3 separate regions of the Homo sapiens genome follow, and all the other regions are linked to region 2. The links are contacts of gene promoters, found by promoter capture Hi-C in human tissues and cell types (Jung and others, 2019). All regions are on one chromosome and are shown on one strand. Each heading gives the region's core, a stretch centred on a gene start or on the middle of the fragment in contact. The rest is flanking DNA. Distances are from core to core; before and after follow the strand shown.

Region 1 (3,777 bases), core at 314-2,813, 1.8 Mb before region 2:
CTTGGTTTTGGTGGGATTTGGCCGGCTTCTTTACTGCATCCTGTTTTATCAGCAGGATCCTTGTGACCTGTGTCTTGTTCCGACCTCCTATCTCATCCGATTACTAAGAACGCCTTAACTCCTGGGGGGTGCGGCCCAGCAGGTCTCAGCTTCAGTTTACCCAGCCCATGTGGAGTCTCTCTGTTCCAACACCTATTGACACTTGCATCTGGATCTTGCACTAGGCTCTGCAGATTATGCTCAGTCTTGAATACTGAGCTTTTTTTGTCCCCTTGAACTTCCCTCCTTGGGCAAGTATCTCAGGGCCTCCCTCTTGCCCACCCTGCTGCTTCCCATCTTTCTGAAAGAGGCGGCTCTGCAGCTGCACAGCACTTGGCCAAGACCTCCTGGCGGTGTGGAGCTCTGAAGACACAGGAGGGATGTCCTCCGAGCTGTTCATGCCTAGACCTACCCCCAGGCTCCCTCTAGCAATCAGCTCCAGTCCTGGGCCTGTCTGCCTTCCGGGAGGAGTGGGGGCCCACAGAGCTGCCCTTCCCGCGCTGTGTATGGACTCAAGGCACTGATGGCCTTCGGTGGGCCACTGCATAAATGGATGTTTCTGCAGTATTGAAGGCCAGTCAGGCAAACCGTGTGCTTTCCTACGCAGTGGGGAATGTGTCGCCCTTTCCTTACATCTTGGAGACCAAAGCCACCATCTGCACTTGTGGGTACATTGTGGCAGTGGTCGGTTAGGGTGGTCTTTCAAAGCAGTTTGAAATGCAGACACTTGTGGGCGTCCCCTAAGGCAGGTGCCCTTTACCTGGAGGCCGCATTGGTCACCTAGACCCGCAAGGCTCACCTGGGCCGGAAGGTGTGGTCAAGCGAGGCCAAGTAGCCCAGAGGCCACCCCTAAGCACCTGTGGACATCATGAGTCCTTGCTGGGGTCCTCACAGAGGGAAGACAGCCCCCAGGGTAAAGCCTCAGGTGCTAAGCACTCGCGCTGCCGCAGGGGGGGAGGCACGTGAGCATCCACTGTGCCGCCCAGGACGGGCCCACCCGGGCTCCAGAGCCTGGGGAGGAAGGCTGCGAGGCTCCCACGGGCTTACATTCAAACCGGGCACACACAGAACGGAGGCCTTCGGCTACGGGACGCCCGGCGGTGGGGTTACGGATGGTACAGCCCTCCCTCCCCGCCTGCTCGAGGCAAATGGTTTCGCCCGGCTACACACACCTCTCCTGGGCGGCAACCGAGGGCGCGGAGGGGGCAAGACGTGCGCTGAGGCCACGCCCCTACTGCATAGTCATAAGGCGGGAGGCTCTGCCTTCGGGGCGGGGCAGACAGCTCCTCGCGCTCGGGCGCGGCCGGTTGGGGGCACGGCCTAGCTCCGGGTGCGGGCGGGGCTGGAGGCGGGGCCGGCCACCGCCCGGTTCCCGCCCTCGCTCTCCTCCCCCAGCGATCAGGCCCCGCCCCGCGCCCGCCGCCGCGCAGGGAGGGGCGGGGCCCGTCTCCGGCAGGCCCCGCCCCCTCTCTGAATATTGATGCGGCGCGCGTCGGCGTCGCCCTCCTCCCATTGAGCGAGGCTGTGTCGCGTGGCCCAGCGTCGGCGTGACGGTTGGACGCGGGCGCGGCACTGCGGGTCCCGATTGCTGCAGCCGCTTGTCAGTGTGATGAAGATTGGCACCCAGGTAAGCTGTCACTCAACCGCTCCGCCGCCGCCGCCGCCGCTCTCGCCGCCGCCGTCCCTATCAATCACACCGGCCCGCGGCCGCCGCCCGCCGCCGCCGCTGCCGCCCGGGTCTGGAGGGCCGGCGCTGCCCTCGAGGGCCCGCATTTGACCCGCCGCCCGGGGCAGGGGGCGGGGAGGGGGCGCGGGTGGGGGAGGGGAGCGGGCACCCGCGGGGGAGGGGGCGCCTTCAGCCCAACCGGCGCGGGGGCGCGCCCAGTTGGTTTCTTAGTGTGGGTTGAGGGACGCGGAAATTTCTGGAAGGCGCCGCCGCCGCCGCGCTGGGCCTGATCGAAGCGCGCGCTCCTAACCGTCCCTTTCGGAGTGCGGCGCGCGCCCCGGCGCGGGGCGGGGGCGCGCGGAGCCCGGCGCGGGCGGGGCGGCGGGCGTGAGGGTCGGGGGCGCGCGGCGGGGCGGGGCCGGGGCGGGCGGCGCGCGTGGGGCCGGTCGGGTCCGCGGCCTCGCGGAGTCCTCAGGGCCGGCGGGGCTGCTCGGAGGGTGCGGGGCGCGCGGCGGCGCAGGCGGGAAGATGGCGGCCGCGACCCCGGCCCCGGCCTCGGCCGTGGCGAGCGGGTGGGTCGGGGTCCTGGGGGCGGTGGGCGTGATGGGGCTCGTGGCCCTCAGCCGGGCGCCGGCGCGGGAGCAGCCCAGGGCCGCTCGCTGACGGCAGTGTTTGGGGCCGGGTGCTGGGGAAGCGGTTCCGGCGTCCCGGGAATTGGTGGGAAGAGCCGCTTCTGTCACACGGGTCGTGGTAATGGATGACAGGAAGTGCCGGGCAGGGTCTGGGCGCCCTGTGGGTTTGCACCTTCCTTGTGAGGGAAATCGTGTCACTTAACGAAAAATGAAGAAACGCGGAGTCTGCTTTATGTCATCCTCGTGGCTCTCGAAATGCCTTATTTGGACAGTGGCTCTGCGACGGGACCAGTTAGGGCCTCCGTTCCGATGGCGGATTCCTGACGGGAGGCCCGAGGGTCCGGGAATGGCGGCGTCCTGAGGTCGGGCCCAGGGCAGGCCAGGCTGAGCGCCACGGCGGGGCCGCAGCCCTGGGGGGTGTTCCACCTGTGTGTGGGGTTCTCTTCCAACTCTACGAGAGTTTGCTTTTTAAAACAGTAGATGATTTTTCCTTAGGAAGTGGTTCCTCTTCAGGATGAAAGAAACCCCCAGCTTTAGTTAGGTCTACTTTCATGATTTTTCCTGGCATACTGAAAAATAGGCTTTCTCTAAACATAAGGAAGAATCGAGGTGAAATGTGAACCTCTGCCAGTATAGTTATTGGTGATGCTCTTGCATTTAGTCATAATTTGGAAGATGGCAGGCTGACCCCAATGAGCCTTTCATCACTCTGCTTAATTTACTTAGAGTGATTTGTGAATCCTGTCCTTGTACACAGGCGTACCTCAGATAATTCGAGTTCTAATCCAGACCACCGCAGTAAAATAAGTATTGCAGTAAAGCAAGTGACGCAACAGTTTTAGGTTTTTCAGTGCATATGAAAGTTGTAATTACAGTATACTACTTAAAGTGTGCAATAGCAAGCATTATATCTATAAAAATGTGCTTACGTTAATTAAAAAATATTTTAGTGCTAAAAATACTAATGATCATCTGAGCCTTTAGTGAGTCCTGCTTGTTTTATACTTTGACAATCTGGCCTCAGTGTGGATGGCTGCTGACTGATCAGGGTGGTGGTGGCTGTGTCAGTTACTTAAAATAAGACAACAGTGAAATTTACTGCATTGATGGACTCCTCCTTTCATGAAAGACTTCTTTGTAGCATGTGATGCTGTTTTGATAGCATTTTAACCACAGTGAAAATTCTTTCAAAGTTGGAGGCTATTCTCAAACTCTGCCACTGCTATCCACTAAGTTGATGTGATATTCCAAATGTTTTGTTGTCATTTCCACAATGTGCACAGCGTCTTCACTAGGAATAAATTCCATTTCAAGAAACCACTTTCTTTGCTCATCCGTAAGAAGCAACTGTTCATTATTTCCACCACATCTGCAGTTCCTTCCTCCACTGAAGTCTTGAACTCCTCCAAGTCATCATAAGGGTTAGAATCAACTTCTTCC
Region 2 (3,880 bases), core at 275-2,774:
GCCAGTATCAGAGACAGCCTCTTTACAGAGCCTTCAGCTCTAGTCATCTTCCACTGGGATGTAACATAGAGGCCGACAGTGCACACCAAGGGCTTCGGAAAGGTTCTCTTTTTATGAACACTGGAGAATGCGACTACAGACCCTCCCGAGAAGGAATGGCCAGTGCACCTGAATGCAGGGTGCATACCCCAGGACTGAGACTGGAGGGAGGCACACCCCAGCATGGCAATGGGGGAGACTAAAGCCCACCCAAGGCTGGATAAGGAGGGGTGGGCGCGCATGGTGGGGGAGGCGCAATGCAGAGAAGTGGGCGCACACCGTGGGGCGTGATAGGGAGGGGTGGGCACACACTATAGGGGGCGTGATGGGGAGGGGTGGGCGCACATCGTGGAGGGGGTGATGGGGAGGGGTGGACGCACACTGGGGGTGTGATGGAAAGGGGGACGCGATGGATAGGGGTGGGCGCACACTGGGGGACGCGACGGGGAGGGGTGAGCACACACTGGGGGTGTGATGGAGAGGGCGACGCAATAGGGAGGGGTGGGCGCACACCAGGGACGCGATGATGGGGACGGGTGGGCGCACACCAGGTGGCATGATGGGGAGGAGTGGGTACACACCATGGGGGGCGTGATGGGGAGGCGTGGGCGTACACCGGGGGGCGCGATGGGGAGGGGTGGGCGCACACCGGGGGACGCGATGGAGGCGGTGGGTGCACACGGGGCGCGATGGGTGGGAGTAGGTGCACACTGAGGGCACGATTGGGGAGACACGAAGGAGAGGGGTGGGCGCACACTGGGGGACGCGATGGCCGGGACACGATGCGGAGAAGTGGGTGAATACCGGGGTCGCGATGGGCGCCCTGGAAGGACGGCAGTGCTGCTCACAGGGGCCAGGCCCCTCAGAGCGCGCCCCTTGGGGGTAACCCCAGACGCTTGTTCCCGAGCCGACTCCGTGCACTCGACACAGGATCCCGCACCCAGGGCGATGCCGGGGGAGAGGGCGACCCCAACCAGCAATGACTCAGGAGAGGAGCACGCAAAGACGCTTCGGGGACACTGCTGGGGCGGGATCCGAGGGCGCCGCGCTCTGCAGGAGCAGCAGCGCGGGGCCCGACACCGGGCGCTCAAGGAGGCGCTGGGCGCGCGCCTTCCCAGCTGGGGAGGAGACGGGCGTGGAGCGGAGGCGTGGCCAGGCCCGGAGGGGGCGGAGCTCGCGGCACAGCGCGCTTCGCGGGGGCAGAGGGGGCGCACCTTGGGCGGGCCCACTTAGGGGCGGGGCTCTAGAGGGCGGGGAGGGGCGGAGCCTGTCAGGGGCGGGACGCGGGGCGGAGTCGGGGTGGGGGCGGAGCCGGGCTGGGGGCGGGACGCCCGCGATAGACGCGCGTGCAGGCGGGGTCGCCGCGCTTACCTTGGGCTTCTCCTCGGACATGGCTGCGCGAGCGGCGCGGGGAGGCGGCGCGGGGGAAGCAGCGCGGAGCGGGCGAGTCACGCTCTCGGCCCCGCCGCTCTCCCGCCGCAACTGTGCGCGGGGCCGCGCTTTATCCCCCAAATCCCGGCGCACCCGTTGGCCGGCACGGGGGTCACGTGGCTGCGCGCGTTCACGAGGCGCGCTCCCCGGGGCGTCGGGCGCGCGCAGGCCGGGCCGCGGCTCTGGGCGGTTGGAGATGCGTCACGGGGCGGGTCCCGCGCGACCCCGTCGGGCGCGGAAGCCCTAGGGCGCTGTGGGGCGCGGGCCAGGAGCGTTTACGGGGAGCCCGGGCCCTGGGGACCCTTGCCCGCCTCCCCGCGTCGCCCGGGCCCCGACTCCTTTCCTGGGGGCCGCGTTCCTGGGGCGCCGGGAAGTGAGGCCGGGGCCGCCGCCCATGGCCGCAGGGACCTGGGGCGGAGGAGGGAGGACGCTGGGGGTGACGTTCCCTCTCAGGAGCCGCGGACAGAGCGGAGAAGGCGGCCCGCGGGGTCCCGTCCGCGGGGGCCGCGCGAATCGGGCCAGCACCCTAGACGATTGGGGGCGCCACCCGCCTCCCTGCCGCCGCGGTTTCCTGTCAGCCCCAGGCCGGGCTCCTTTGGCCAACGCTCCTACGGGGCTGCCCCGGGCCCTCCACACCCGTCCTCAAGAAGACCCGTTTTACCTGTGAAGAAACTGAGGCACTGGGAGGTCAAACCACCCCCAGGTCAGCGCTGGTGAGCGGCGCCGAGCTTGGCCAGGCCGCCACGTCGGCGAGCGCGGGCAAACCCAGGCTGGACGCCGCCAGTGCCGGCGGAACGGGGACCTCGTGGACGCGGGAAACGCGCTGGGCCGGCAGGACGGCCTCCCCGGACTTGCGGGCGCCATTCCTGGGGTGCCTGGCCCGCCCCGGCCTCCATGTCTGTGATCCCAGGGCCTCGGATGGAACGGACCTGAGGGCGGACACCCCTGCGTCCCTCAGGAGTGCCCGGGTGGTGCCAGCCGGGGCGTGGCGGAGGTCTCATCTGATGGTGAGCCCGGCCGAAGGCGGGGGAGGCCGCACTTCAGGCTCAGCTGGGAAATGGCAGGGCCTGGATTTGAACCTAAGCGTCTGAGCCGTTTCTGTCCTGCCTGGGAAAGGCTCAGCCAACTGAGCAACGTCGCAAAGCCATGGAGACAAGTCTTCATGGACCATAACTTCACAAACCGTCTTCTACTCAAAAATTCACTTTCTTGGCTAGAGCCCCCACTTAGGAGGGGGAAGGCTGCTGAAGTCTTTCGGGGAGAGGGTCTGAGAGTCAGCCCCAGTCCCAGGCAGGTCATAAGGTGTGGTCCCTTCCTTCTGGAACCTGGAGCCCAGGGCCTCAGCAGAGGATGTGGAGGTGGGTGGCCAGCTCAGACGGTCCTGGGAGGGGGCTCCGCAACCAGCCCCTTCCGAGGGGACGTGGCGCCTCAGAGCCCACAGATTGCTGGCCCTGGAAGTGCCCTAGGGCAGGCAGGGTTCAGAGAGTTATCGACTCCAAGACACCGTTAATCATAAAACAACACGACCGTAGGTAGCACAGACACACTAAACTCCGGCAGGCTGTGGATGACGGCAGCCCGCTTCAGTGTTGTGGAAGTGAGAAACACGCAGCTTAGAAATCATGAGACACAGAACCCAAATGTGTTACCGCTCGAAATTACGCCAGTTGCTGTGTCACGAAGTGATGCGTGACTACAGTCATGGATAAGGGAAAAAGAGGCTCAGATGACATTAGGTTTTAAAAAGCCAGGCTATAAGACAATGGTGGTCTGAATTCAATTCATGCTGTGTCTGTCTCCCACACTGTGACCTGCCCCGAATCCTTCATGTGACAGCAAAGATGCAAAAAGGCTCTGTCGCAGCTGTGGGGACACAAAGGACACCGCTGGTGGACCGAACGCCAAGAGGTTTCTGAAGGACACAGCCAAAGGGGATCGAATGGACGGAGGAACCAGAGCTCAGGAAAAACCGTGGCCTACCACGAGCACAGGGTAAAGAACCCAAATGGCCAGAGCCCCTCCGGAGGGTCGCCACACCTGGCGATGGTCCCAACAAGAAGACTCATGAGAAGGCAGGGAACTGGCAAATGAGTAACAGCATTGCTGACATGAAAGCTCGACCCACATGTGACTAGGAGAGGGGTCCTGGCTGAGGACGCAAAGAACTGCGAGACAAAGTCACAGGACTCTCCCATGATGGAGAAGTTAAGAGAGGAAAGGTCAGGGCTGGGCTGGGTGGCTCATGCCTGTAATCCCAGCACTTTGGGATGCTGAGGCTGGTGGATTACAAGGTCAGGAGTTCGAGACCAGCCTGGTCAACATGGTGAAACCCCGTCTCCACAAAAAAATTAGCCGGGCCTGGTGGCGCATGCCTGTAATCCCAGCTGCTTGGGAGGCTGAGGCAGGAGAA
Region 3 (2,700 bases), core at 201-2,700, 1.0 Mb before region 2:
ACTGGCTCTTCACACAATTGTCTCTTACAACTGAAGGGACATTTAAACTGTCAGCCTAATAATAAAGTAGAAAAAAACAGTTCCAGCTGGGTACGGTGGCTCAAGGATGTAATCCCAGAACTTTGGGAGGCTGAGGTGGGCGGATCACTTGAGGTCAGGAGTTTGAGACCAGCCTAGCCAAATGGCAAAACCCCGTTTCTACTAAAAATACAAAAATTAGCTGGGCGTGGTGGCGAGCACCTGCAATCCCAGCTACTCGGGAGGCTAAGGCAGGAGAATCCCTTGAACCTGGGAAGCGGAGGTTGCAGTGGGCCGAGATTGTGCCACTGCACTCCACCCTGGGCAAGAGTGAGACTGAGTCTCAAAAACAAAAAAAAAAAACACAGGCCTCAGCATCGCCTGGACCTGTTCTTGCTTGGGGCATCCCGTCGGTCACCAACCATGACAGCGAGGCGGGCCTGGCCTGTGCTCCACCGGAGGGGGCTTCTTGCACAGATGACCTGCTCATTTCAGCCCCTCCAGAATCTTCTGGCAGGCGCAGAGCAACAGGACGTCCATTTTACAGACGAGGAAACCGAGACACAGGGAAGGTTGCCATCTGCAACCCAGCCCGGTTTTTATCTTGTTTTTCTGTGTTTTAACTTTTTATTTAGACTTACAGTTTGAAACAGTGCTAGAATCGGAAGCATGTAAAGAAACCTGTGGACCTTTTATGCAGATACACTTAAGTTTTTAACCCATGTGCCTTATCACTGGGGACCTCTTGCACTCTCTCTCATGATTTTTTTCCCGAACTAGATGAGGATATTGACAAAGATTCTTGCTTGGCCAAACTGTAGTCGGGCTCCTGAAGCGCCTAGGCCACCTGCGCACTTCCTTGTAAAATCCACTTTTAGCAAGAAGCCTGGCTAAGTCAGTTTAGCCAGACCCTTCCCACCCGCTTGCTATCGGATCACCGTGGAGATCGGAGCCGGCTGCTCACCTGCGCCATCGCCGGCGACGCCCGATCACCCTGCCTGCCTGAAACCAGAAGCGCCTCATCCCTGGGGTTTCCTCTCAGAGACTGTCCATGCAGGGACCGCACCCTGCTCCGGGCTATCAATTCCCACTCGCCCTTGCTGTATTCAGCGGAGCCCAATGTCTCCCCAGCGGCGCCCCAGGCGCGGCCCCCCGCTGCTCACTCGCGCGCAGCGCCCGAGCGGAGGGAGGCCTCTCACGGCCACAGCCCGGGCCAGCCCAGGGGTGCGCAGCGGGGCCAAAGCGGCTTCTTTCGCTCCAGGAGCCGCGGCCGCGCCCTGAGGCTAAGGCAGGACTCCGGGCCGGCCCCGTCCCCGCGGCCCACCCACCTGGTCGGCGATGTGCTGGGTCTCGGCGGTGGCCGGCTGCGTGGCGGAGGGCGCCCCGCACATCATCTTGGCGGCGACGGAGGGAATCTGGCGAGGGGACTCGGCGAGGGGACGCGGCGGCTCCTCAGCCCAAGTAGGCGCTGGGGTCACGTGACGCGCGGGCGGAACCAAGGGGCGGGGAGGAGGCACTTTGGCTTCGGAGTCCCCTGCGGGGTCGCGGTGGCCCCGCAAGAAGGGACGCGCGGGGCGGGGCGCGGGGCGGGGCGCGGGGCGGGGAACCTGGCCACCACTCGCCGCAGGCTGGGTCTCCGCGCCCAGCGCTGGTGTCGGGAGGGAGCGCCCCCCTCCCGGGGCTGGTATCGTCTTTCCGGGCGCCGAGTCACACGGACCGGGGCGGGGGCGCGGCCGGGTGTCGCCGGTGGGTTGGGCGCGCAGGGTGGGACGATAGGGAAGGGGCAGTCGGAGTAGGCGCAATCCTGCAGGGTGGCGGGGTCCGGGCCGCGCACGAGGGAGGGCGGGGCGCAGCGCTGCAGGGGTCAGGGGTCAGGGGTCCCGGCCCCGCGGGAGCAGGTGTGCGGGCTGCAGTGGACATCACCGCTTGTGACCGAGAACACTGAAGGCTGAAGGGGGTGGACAGAGGGGCCCAGGGAGGGGGAGACGGCGCCCACGCGCTCCAGGCTGGGTGGGGGCAGGGGGTAGATCAGAGGGATGAGAAGAAGGCAGGGTTCTCTGGTGGAATTTGCGTTTTAGGATTTCTTTTCTTTCTTTCCTTTTCTTTTCTTTTTTTTTTTTTTTTTTTTTTTTTGAGACGGAGTCTCGCTCTGTCTCCCAGGCTGGAGTGCAGTGGCGCGATCTCGGCTTACTGCAGGCTCCGCCTCCCGGGTTCACGCCATTCTCCTGCCTCAGCCTCCCGAGTAGCTGGGACTACAGGCGCCCGCCACCACACCTGGCTAATTTTTGTATTTTTAGTAGAGACGGGGTTTCACTGTGTTAGCCAGGATGGTCTCGATCTCCTGACCTTGTGATCCACCCGCCTTGGCCTCCCAAAGTGCTGGGATTACAGGTGTGAGCCACTGCGCCCGGCCTTTTTTTTTTTTTTTTTGAGACGGAGTCTGGATCTGTCGCCTAGGCTGGAGTGCAGTGGCGCAATCTCGGCTCACTGCAAGCTCCGCCTCCGGGGTTCACACCATTCTCCTGCCTCGGCCTCCCGAGTAGCTGGGACTACAGGCGCGCGCCTTCATGCGCAGCTAATTTTTGTGTTTTTAGTAGAGACGGGGTTTCACCATATTGGCCAGGCTGGTCTCGAACTCCTGACCTCGTGATCCACCTGCCTCGGGCTCCCAAAGTGCTGGAA

Evidence for each region. The method cuts DNA at HindIII sites, captures the fragments that hold promoters and counts their contacts. A contact is called where the count stands out against the background at its distance.
Region 1: a contact is called between the fragment with the promoter of PKNOX1 here and the fragment with the promoter of SUMO3 in region 2, in 1 of the 25 tissues and cell types used here (spleen).
Region 3: the fragment with the promoter of CSTB here is called in contact with the fragment with the promoter of SUMO3 in region 2 in 1 of the 25 tissues and cell types used here (dorsolateral prefrontal cortex).

Annotation. Positions count from the first base shown.
Region 1 is chr21:42,972,999-42,976,775 of GRCh38, forward strand. PKNOX1 (PBX/knotted 1 homeobox 1) reads left to right here and starts at 1,564. Exons shown (of 11, transcript NM_004571.5): 1 at 1,564-1,666. RefSeq lists silencers at 752-911, 1,222-1,611, 1,742-2,061, 2,202-2,401 and an enhancer at 2,363-3,089. The HindIII fragment of the contact is 23,812 bases long and covers 1-3,777 here.
Region 2 is chr21:44,816,538-44,820,417 of GRCh38, forward strand. It overlaps SUMO3 (small ubiquitin like modifier 3), which reads right to left and starts at 1,525. Exons shown (of 4, transcript NM_006936.3): 1 at 1,411-1,525. The coding sequence starts at 1,431. RefSeq lists silencers at 1,057-1,256, 1,437-2,016, 2,037-2,136. The HindIII fragment of the contact is 28,474 bases long and covers 1-3,880 here.
Region 3 is chr21:43,774,858-43,777,557 of GRCh38, forward strand. It overlaps CSTB (cystatin B), which reads right to left and starts at 1,451. Exons shown (of 3, transcript NM_000100.4): 1 at 1,347-1,451. The coding sequence starts at 1,412. RefSeq lists a silencer at 1,030-2,029. The HindIII fragment of the contact is 5,981 bases long and covers 1-2,700 here.